Linked DNA regions of Homo sapiens: region 1 is linked to region 2. Evidence: promoter capture Hi-C in human tissues and cell types (Jung and others, 2019). All regions are on one chromosome and are shown on one strand. The core of a region is centred on a gene start or on the middle of the fragment in contact, and the rest is flanking DNA. Distances in the headings are between cores, read along the strand shown.

What was found. Contacts are between HindIII fragments. The study calls those that stand out against the background at their distance.
Region 1: a contact is called between a fragment that was not itself captured here and the fragment with the promoter of VPS29 in region 2, in 5 of the 25 tissues and cell types used here (H1 embryonic stem cells, bladder, hippocampus and 2 more).

What each region holds. Positions count from the first base shown.
Region 1 is chr12:110,538,890-110,544,118 of GRCh38, forward strand. It overlaps PPTC7 (protein phosphatase targeting COQ7), which reads right to left. Exons shown (of 6, transcript NM_139283.2): 4 at 933-1,056. Among named protein-coding and RNA genes, the nearest start is that of RAD9B, 39 kb to the left of the region's middle. RefSeq lists enhancers at 1,564-2,064, 2,065-2,565, 5,047-5,146. The HindIII fragment of the contact is 6,941 bases long and covers 1-5,229 here.
Region 2 is chr12:110,499,667-110,504,888 of GRCh38, forward strand. VPS29 (VPS29 retromer complex component) reads right to left here and starts at 2,445. Exons shown (of 4, transcript NM_016226.5): 1 at 2,383-2,445. The coding sequence starts at 2,385. RAD9B (RAD9 checkpoint clamp component B) reads left to right here and starts at 2,665. Exons shown (of 11, transcript NM_001286535.2): 1 at 2,665-2,717; 2 at 4,140-4,210. The coding sequence starts at 2,672. It overlaps LOC124903015 (a long non-coding RNA gene), which reads left to right. Exons shown (of 2, transcript XR_007063458.1): 2 at 1-159. RefSeq lists an enhancer at 2,274-2,413. The HindIII fragment of the contact is 3,487 bases long and covers 4-3,490 here.

The DNA of each region.
Region 1 (5,229 bases), core at 1,277-3,776, 39 kb after region 2:
ACTCTCTATTCCCTTATCCAGCTTTGTTTTTCTTATTTAGCACCCACATTACATCATAGATTTACTTCCCTGTATTTATCTATTTTCCTCCACTAGGATGTAAGTTCCATACAGGTAGGGACTGTGTAGATTCTGCTCACCACTGTGTCACCACACAGAGCACGGTGCCTGTGACAAGGAAGCACCTCACACTGACTGCACTCCACAGACAAGGCGTGGCGCTAAGGAGTTCCTACACAGGGCTGTAGTTAATCCTCACTGCAACCCTATAAAAGAGGATCTTTAGGATGCCCCATTTTATATGAAGAAAATACTGCTTAAACAGTTTTAAGAAACCCTCAGATCTCAGCAACTTCAATAAATAATAAAAAAAAGAAAGAAACGTACCCAAAGTCATACTGGTTAGAGGTAAAGACTCATGAGAAAAAGACTCATTTTTCCCAGAGTATGTTCACAAAGCCAGGAAAAAATTGAAAGCCTAGTTTCACCTCCTTCCTCTATGGGAGAAACCCATACTATTTGGTTACTGGTGGCAGCTCAGGTCACACTGAGGCTTCCAGTGGCCTGCTGCCTTTGGCTGGCTCTGGCATGACTATTTCCTGTCTTTGCCTGATTCAACACCTGCTGGGTGTTAGAAGAATAAAAGGAGAAACAACCAGGACCCGACACCATTAAAATATAAATAAAGATACAAACAAGAAATGCCCTCCATCTAGACTTTTCCTACTTCTACCAGCCTATGAAAACCTTGGGTAGGAAGCTTCTTTTTCCAAGTGCTCTAATTATTTGAAAGACCAGAGCTATTATTATTTTCCTGAAATTCACAAAATAGTTCTTTCCAAAACTACAAAGAGATAATGCAACTGAATCCATAAAACTCAGCTATCCAGAGAGGGCCACTTTTCCCAAGAGCTAACCTTTGAGTTAATTACCTTTAACTTTTTTAGCTCCTGAAGAATCATATAATCAGGCATGTTGTCAAAGAGTCCATCTGTTGCCGTCAGGATAATGTCTCCTAGCTGGACATCGAAAGACGTGCTATCAGCAGCATCCGGACTGTGGCAAGGACAGGGGAGGGACAAAGTTAAGAAGGCCCTTTACAGATGAGTTGAAAATGTCCTACAGGCACTATTTTACAATGTAATAAGCTTTCTGCAAGAAAAACTGATTTATCATAATGGAGTCAATTTTTAAAAAAAGTCATTCTGAAATTCCCAACTCTGAAAAAAGTTAATCGAAAATTCTAATATAAATGTTTCAAATTTTTAACTGAAACTACCGAGTAAAACCAAGTCTGATGATTAGTCACAAGTGGCTGAGAAGGAGGGAGGAAGGGTCCTCTTCTGAGTCAGATCTAACACACCTCTAAAATCCTAGTGGAAATGAGTCTTTATTCCTAATTCTTTACAGCCGAATTCCATCCCCCCCCGCCTTTTTTTTTTTTTTTTTTGGAGACAAGTCTCGCTCTGTTGTCGAGGCTGGAATGCAGTGGCACGATATAGGCTCACTGCAACCTCTGCCTCTTGGGTTCAAGCGATTCTCCTGTCTCAGCCTCCCAAGTAGCTGGGACTACAGGCATGTAAAATAGTGCCTGTAGGACCACAGTCATGCACCACCACGCCTAATTTGTTTTTACATTTTTAGTAGAGACAGGGTTTTGCCACGTTGGCCAGGCTGGTCTTGAACTCCTGACCTCAGGTGATCCGCCTGCCCCGGCCTCCCAAAGTGCTGGGATTACAGGCATGAGCCACTGTAATCACCAGCCACCCAGCCCACCCCCTCTTATTCACATATTTCACTCATCAGTTTCCTCGAATATTTGAATCTGGGTCCTGGAGTGCCATAGTGAGGGTGGGATGATGAATACCTGTGGAGAACAACATGCCAATCTTTTTTTTTTTTTTGAGACAGAGTCTCGCTCTGTCGCCCAGGCTGGAGTTCAGTGGCGCGATCTCGGCTCACTGCGAGCTCCGCTTCCTGGGTTCACGCCATTCTCCTGGCGCAGCCTCCCGAGTAGCTGGGACTACAGGTGCCCGCAACCATGCCCGGCTAATTTTTTGTATTTTTAGTAGAGACAGGGTTTCACCATGTTGGCCAGGATGGTCTTGATCTCCTGACCTCGTGATCTGCCCGCCTTGGCCTCTCAAAGTGCTGGGATAACAGGCGTGAGCCACTGCGCCCAGCCGCCAATCTTATAAGAATTCATTCACTGCTGGGTGTGGTGGCTCACGCCTGTAATCCCAGCACTTTGGGAGGCCAAGGTGGGTGGATCACCTGAGGTCAGGAGTGCAAGACCAGCCTGACCAACACGGTGAAACCCCGTCTCTACTAAAAATTAAAAAATTAGCCAGGCGTGGTGGCACACGCTTGTGATCCCAGCTATTCAGGAGGCTGAGGCAGGAGAATTGCTTGAACCCGGGAGATGGAGGTTGCAGTGAGCCAGTGAGCCAAGATCGTGCCACTGCCCTCCAGCCTGGCAACAGAGTGAGACTCCATCTCAAAGAAAAAGAAAAAGGAAAAAAATAATTCATTCACTTGCCAGTCGCAGTGGCTCACGCTTGTAATCCCTGCACTTTGGGAGGCCAAGGCGGGCGGATCACCTGAGGTCAGGAGTTTGAGACCAGCCTGGTTAAAACCCGTTTCTACCAAAAATACAAAAAATTAGCTGGGCGTGGTGGCACACGCCTGTAATCCCAGCTACTAGGGAGGCTGAGGCAGGAGAATCACTTGAACCTGGGAGGCAGAGGTTGCAGTGAGCTGAGATTGCACCATTGCACTCCAGCTAGGGCAACGAGAGCTAAACTCCGTCTCAAAAAAAAAAAAAAAAAAAAAGAATACATTCACCGGAAATAGCTACAGTATTTTGGCATAGTAAGGACTCTGTGTCTCCCAAGGGTCCCAAAGTGGTCATCATACGTAGGTATTTATTAGTGTGCCTCATGTAACACGTCTTCAAGAAATATCTTGATATCTTGACCAGGCGTGGTGGCTCACCCCTGTAATCCCAGCACTTTGGGAAGCCGAGGCAAGCAGATTATTTGAGGTCAGGAGTTCAAGACCAGCCTGGCCATCATGGTGAAACCCCATCTCTGCTAAAAATACAAACGTTAGCCAAGCATGGTGGCGTGCGCCTATAATCCCAGCTACTTGGGAGGCCGACACAGGAGAATCACTTGCTTCAACCCCAAAGCTGAAGGTTGCAGTGAGCTGAGATGGCGCCACTGCACTCTAGCCTGGGCAACAGAGCAAGACTCCATCTCAAGAAAAAAAAAAAATAGAAGAAATATCTGTTGCATAACTGAATGAAGCAGCAAAATATTTGACTCTCCAAATTGGGGGAAAAAACTCTTCAATATACTGTTGAAGAAAGCAAGGTGAAGACGGTGTGTCGTATGTGCAACCATTTCCGTAAAAAAAAAAAGGCAGAAAGACACACAGACATGGATGCTTCTATATGCAGGGAATAGATCTGGAGAGAATCAAAGAAACTGCTCATAGCGGGCTGTGGGTGGTGGCTCACACCTGTAATCCCAGCACTTTGGGAGGCCAAGGTGGGCAGATCACTTGAGGTCAGGAGTTCAAGACCAGCCTGCCCAACATGGTGAAACCCTGTCTCTACTAAAAAATACAAAAAGTTAGATCATGGTGGTGCACACCTGTAATTCCAGCTACTCGGGAGGCTGAAGCAGGAGAATTGCTAGAGCCAGGGAGGCAGCAGTAGCAGTGAGCCGAGATTGCGCCACTGCACTCCAGCAGCCTGGGCAGCAGAGCGAGACTCTGTCTCAAAAAAAAAAAAAAAAAAAAAAAAAAGAAAAAGAAACTAAAGAAACTGCTCATAAAGAAACCTTTGAGGACAGAATATGTGGCTAAGGGCAGGAACAGGAGGCAGATGTCTCACTAAACTTTTTTGTGTACAACTCTTGAAAAAAAAAACAGATGGAAGATCTTTTTCTCTGACAATGCCTGATGAAAACAGACATAAAAATGGGGGAAAACCCCGGGTGGGGAGAAAAGATCCTATATTCAGAGATCATGGCCTCCTGAGGCTGGTTCTTGGCGACTTCTTAAGGCCAGTTTCCCTCCTTCCAGGCCTCCCTGGGGAGGGAAAGGTGAGATCTGATAATCCGCCTTAATCTGTAATTAAGGAACAAGAGCCAGGAAAGCAAATCAGATACCGACCCGGAAGGGAGGCACCAGATCCAAAGCACCCTAAGCTCCACGGAAAAACCCCAACACTTGTGTAAGCAACATGTGACAACATTTGTGAAGAGAAAGCATAAAAACTAACAAACAAAAGCACACATGCCTATGAGGATTCACACTAAATGCACTCAGAAAATTTCTGGTTCATCTTCACTTGACTGAGGAAAAAGGTGGCACATGTAAAGTTCTGCCATGTGCTGCTGCAGGGAACCGACTTTCACTTACATATTTAGATAATCAACATTTTGTAAAAATGTCTACTAAAGGAAAACCTGTAAGTTAAGGTTAAAATAATATTCTGTAGATAAGAGGGACCATTAACTAAGGAGATACATGCAGCATGAAAAAAAAAAAAGGGAAAAAGACTGTAAAACTGGGGGAAATCAGGTCAATTCTTTCTGTGGAATAAAGAGAAAACAATGCAAGACGCTCTCATCTGCTCAGCCTTTGAAAGCTAATCAGATTCTAGAAGTGTAGATTAATGACCAGGTTGGCACTGAAGCTCTGTTTTATGCTGAGGTTTTTCTTTCCCCAGAAGTGTCCTTTGCTATTCTGTCTGTGAGAGTCTTGCTCCCATTGGACAGTTCGTCCTCTCCTAACACTCCCACCCATGAGCTTGGTGTTCTGCCAGCTGCAGTTTTGCCCATTTTGATTGAACATACTGTGCTGCTGGAAACTTTTGACCGCACTGAAACATGAGCTGAAATCACATGCTAGCGAGCTGTCTCTGGGCTCTAGGGGAAGCCACCTCCACCTCGCTGGCATGCCGGCAGAGTACTGCCCCAACCTGTCTGTCCCACAGACAGTGTGTGAGATATGGCAGGGCTGCTTTGGTGCTTGGAAGCCCAACAAGAAGAATCAAATGAAGAAAAAATTGAAGCACCAGTCTCCAAAAACTGTGATCTGAGCTTGGGCTCTACGGAGGCCTTGGGGTTCAGAGTTCTCCCCACTCCAGTGTGGCTAACAATAATGTAGATTACAGCCAACTTTAGAAGGGCCTAGAATCAAATACTCTTCCAATTATGG
Region 2 (5,222 bases), core at 1,195-3,694:
CATACCAAATGAGCAAACAATTGTTAATGATTTCTGAGTGTTATGAAAGAAAATGTTAAAAATCAGCTGTGCTCAAAACAATACCAAAATAAATATTTGCTTTATTTTTGAACATGACACACACACTTTTTAATAAATTTGTCTTGTCAGTTTCTCCTACTTTTCCTAATCTTGTTCTGTACATCGACTTCCATCTCTGTTTTCCATTCTGTTTAGATTTTTATAAGATTTTATAAAATAATGAATTTGGATTTCTACAAGACACTGTGGAAAATTTATCATCAGTAATAGCTGAAAGGCTAACATTTTCTGGATTCTTAGGGTTTAATTATTCAAGTATATGGATGTTAATTATCTTACATTCAAAATTCTAGTAGCTGGAAAATTATGCTGCGGCTAGGTGATTTTTTGTAGCTGATGCAACACAGCACCATGAATACATTATCAAGTGTTGAACAAATCAACTAAAGGTGAAGACAAAATAATAAAAACAAACACATTTATTCAGGTAAAACTGGACCTTTCCCACACTTGAATTTGCTGCCCACAGACTCTGGACACTGTACTGAGTGTTGAACGTCTGTATCCTTTGCCAAATAAAATGCTTTTAATCATGAAAGAACTGGCTAATGCTAAATTTTTCCCAGTTCTATTTCATATGAAAAATGATGTTCCAGTACAACTACCCTAAATAAGAGGGATCACTTCTCAAACAACTTGAGAAACATTAATATTTTGAAACCATGGCAAGTAATTATGTCTTCTCCCATGGATAGGTGTCTCGAAATTACTGTAAACGGATTACTTTAAATTGGAGTCTGTTTAGAAGCAAAAATTAAAAGTGAGATTAAAGATTTTAAAGAAGCATGCACCATAAATCTCTGGCTGCCATGTCTGTAAGTCCCCCTCTTGAAAAGGCTGTTTGTCATGCAATAGTAATAATCTTAAAAATGCATAGCTTCTTTGGTTTCCTTGTAAAAATAAAAAAGAATGCAATAAATGCCTGTCAGAGGTAGACGTCCCTTTACAGCCAACCTCCATCAACACAAATATGAAGATAATCACAGCTCCATTTCAAACAATTGATTTTTTTTTTTTTTTTGAGCAGCAGCAAGATTTATTGTGAAGAGCGAAAGAACAAAGCTTACACAGGGTGGAAGGGGACCCGAGTGGGTTGCCCCAAACAATTGACTTTTTAAGAGTCAAAGGCACCTTTGAAAATATGATTACAGGCCGGGCGCGGTGGCTCACGCCTGTAACCCCAGCACTTTGGGAGGCCGAGGCGGGTGGATCATCTGAGGTCGGGAGGTAGAGACCAGCCTGACCAACATGGTGAAACCCCGTCTCTACTAAAAATACAAAAATTTAGACGGGCTTGGTGGCGGGCGCCTGTAATCCCAGCTACTCGGGAGGCTGAGGCAGGAGCTGAGGCTTGAACCCGGGCGGCATTGCAGTGAGCCGAGATCGCGGCATTGCACTCCAGCCTGGGCGACAGAGCGAGACTCCATCTCAAAAAGAAAGAAAGAAAATATGATTACAGCTCTGAGTCCTCTCTAGTAGAGGCCCCCAGTTTTTATGTAGGAAGGTCTGAGGGGCACCAAACTACTGGGGGTGAAGGGGTGATTGCTTGAAGGTGGCTGGGGGAGACTAGGTAAGTCTCCAACACCGGCACTCTCCCCAGAAAAATGTGTATATTCACAAAAATTTCCCAACAGTTTCAATGAGTTCACACATCATTAAGGAATCCTACCCTAAAGAGGCGTAGCAACCCGTGGAAAGAAACAGTTCCAGCAATTGCAAGCGCCAAATCCCGCCCTCTGAGAGCACACCTGCTCATCTCAATGGCAGCTAGATGTTATTTCAGGAGCGAGGAGGGTGGTTTATTCCCTTTCCCTAGATGGCAAAGTTAAACGGGTACGAAATTCTGCTCGCTACTTCCTGTTCTGCATTCGAGAGGCCAGCTTCCACCACTACACCCCAACCAGCGGGAGGTGCTTTTTGCGGGAAACGAGTAGGAACCGTCTGGAAACGGAGGACCGTGCCCCTATCCCCGGAACATTCGAGGTATAGGACCAAAGGCCTTCCCTGGCTCGGGCGTGCGTGTCTCGTGACAGGTCGGGCTGCTAGAGGGGCCTTTTTACCCCTTGGATGGCCTCTGGCCCCTTGGGGCCGGGATACGAGACCTAGGCCAGCCGCACCCAGAGGTGGCCGCTCCCTTCCTTCCCTAGACCTCTTCTGGGCCTTTCCCAGGCCAGCGCCTGGGCCCTGACGCCGAGGCCTCCGGGATTTCCCAATTCCTCGCCCTCGGCCTCCCCACGGCTCCCAACAACGCAGCACCCCACCCGAGAGCCAGGCCTTGGTCGCCGCAACTGCAGCCCTCACCATCCTGTCACCGGGCTCCGCTCAGTCACCACCACCGTCGCCGCCCTCTTCCTCAGGCTCCTCGGCGACCCGCCCACTTAACCGCAACCAATGAGAGCAGAGGGAGACAGAAATTGCCGTACGGAGGCCCGCACGGACCCTTCTCCGCCGTAAAGCCGTTTGGGAACTTGTGGAGGCGGGGTGGTAGAGTGCAGAGACGAGATCGCGAAGCTTTGAAAAGCGCGGGCAACATCCGGGCACCTGGGCCGTCGAGCTGAGGCGCGCCTTCCGAGCCTGCTTTTTAGGGCGGATGGCAGCCATGCTGAAGTGCGTGATGAGCGGCAGTCAGGTGAAAGGTGGAGCGGCCTTTGTTGTCTTCCCATTTAGCAGAGAGAAAAGCAGACGTTAATAGGTCGTCCCTACCATTGTCTAATTTTTCCTCTTTGCCTTTTTGCGCAATGACTGAGGACGCACGCCCTGGCCACAGCCCCACCCACTCAAGTCCCTGTTAACTTCTGAGGGGAGGATGAGGACCCATCTCGTGTGACTTAGAGGCAGATGTAATATGGGTGGTATCCGGGAAATAGAGTTGTACCATCGGGCCACAAACTCGGGATGCTGAGGACTGCATGGGGAAGAGTTGAGAGAAAAAAATAATGCTTGGACAGTAAAAGTATTTTTGTGCCAAGAGAACAGCATTAACCTGGTTTTTTTTTTCCCCAGATTCTACCATTTTTAAAAATGTATGAACTTGGAAAAGTCACTAAATCTCTTTGGGGCTCAGTTTCTAAAACGGAAACAGGGGTAATGACAGCACCTTCGTCACAGAGTTTGTTTGGAGGCAATGAAATGGAAATGCGTGTAAAGAGCCCAGTAATAGATGGAATGTACAAGAACTATTAGTGTTGTAAACGGCGCTTTCAAAATGGAAGTTAGGCCGGGTGCAGTGGCTCACGCCTGTAATCCTAGCACTTTGGGAGGCCAAGGCGGGTGGATCACCTTAGGTCGGGAGTTCGAGACCACCCTGACCAACATGATGAAACCCCGTCTCTACTAAACATACAAAAATTAGCCGGGCTTAGTGGTGGGCGCCTGTAATCCCAAGCTACTTGGAAGGCTGAGGCGAGAGGATCGATTGAGCCCGGGAGGTTGAGGCTGCAGTGAGTTGAGCTCGTGCCACTGCACTCCAGCCTGAGTGTCAGAGTGAGACTCTGTCTCAAAAAAAATAAAAAATAAAAAGAACATTAACAATGTCGTACGGGATCAGACTAGTGTGTTTTCCAGCCCTAAATGTGTTCTGTGGTGGGGAAATCTGGCTGCCCTCAAACATCAGAGATGTATGTTGGATACCCCTAATTTCTCTCTCATGACTTGTTGTGACTTGGCTATCAAGCTATTAAAACCACTTCAGATTATCTTCTCCATGCACTGTTTTCACAGTTTTTGGGGGGTCAAATACATTTATCTAAATCAAGTTGTAAAATACATTAGTATGGAAATTGGTTTGCACAGTAGCTCCATGCAACACTGTAAACATATAGAAGGACAAATTTCGGTCAATTTTATCATTTCACACACTACAAATTTATTGAGCCCTGACTATGTGTCTGGCATTTTGCCAAGGGTATTATACTGTATTAAAGTAATGTAGCATTAGTCTGTAAGATACTGTTATTTTTGAATTTCTCTTGAGTCCTCTGAATGCTGAACTAGTCTTGTGATTTGTTTTTATTGTTAGAGGGAAAGAATATAAGCATCACCTTTCTTTTTCTCCATAGTATTTGGGAAAGCAGTTCAAGCTCTATCACGAATTAGTGACGAGTTCTGGCTAGACCCATCTAAAAAAGGTGTAAGTAAGAAAGTTAACAGATCACGTATCAAGGCAAGAGGAGATGTTTAAAGATCCCAGTCCAGATTGAATGTTAACTAGGAAATCCAGAAATTGTAATTATCCCTTTCACTGTTTATCTTTATTTTACATATCTGAATACACTTAGAGCATGGTAAAGTTGAAAATATGCAGATAAGCTTGATTGATTTAAACTGGAAGTCACAAACTGGTAGTTAAGAGACTAGCTACGGTCTGCAGGAATGTTTGTTGGCCTGCACTGTTTTTTTTTTTTTTTAATTTGAAATAATTTCCAACATTTAAAAATTGAGGCCGGGCGCGATGGCTCACGCCTGTAATCCCAGCACTTTGGGAGGCCGAGGTGGGTGGATCACCTGAGGTCAGGAGTTCGAGACTAGCCTGGTCCACATGGTGAAACTCCTTCTCTACTAAAAATATAAAAATTAGCCTGGCATGGTGGTGGGCACCTGTAATCCCAGCTACTCGGGAGGCTGAGGTGGGAGAATTGCTTGAATCCAGCAGATGGAGGTTGCAGTGAGTGAGCCGACATGGTGCCACTGCACTCCAGCCTGGGCAACAGAGTGAGAGTGAGACTCCGTCCCAAAAAAAAAAAAAAAAAAAATTGAGTCAAATTTTTCCTGCTTCTCTTGAAAATTCAGAAGACCTGACAGTTTTGGGACTGCATTCATTCCCAAGTGGAAGTAGTTGGCTGAAACTGAGTAATGGTTTCCCCGCTTAGACAAGGTGTGAGACCGCCAATATGCTGTAACTCCCTTATATATTGCAACTCCCTTATATATTGCCTTTTGCCATTTCACACATTAAGGTTAAGGCTCATGACTGGGTGTGGTAGTTCACAAATGTAATCCCAGCACTTTGGGAGGCTGAGACAGGAGGATCACTTGAGCCCAGGAGTTCGAGACCAGCCTGAGCAACAAAGCAAGACACTACCTGTCTCTACAAAAAAATTTTAAAAATTAGTCGGGTGATATGTTGTGTGCCTGTAGTCCCA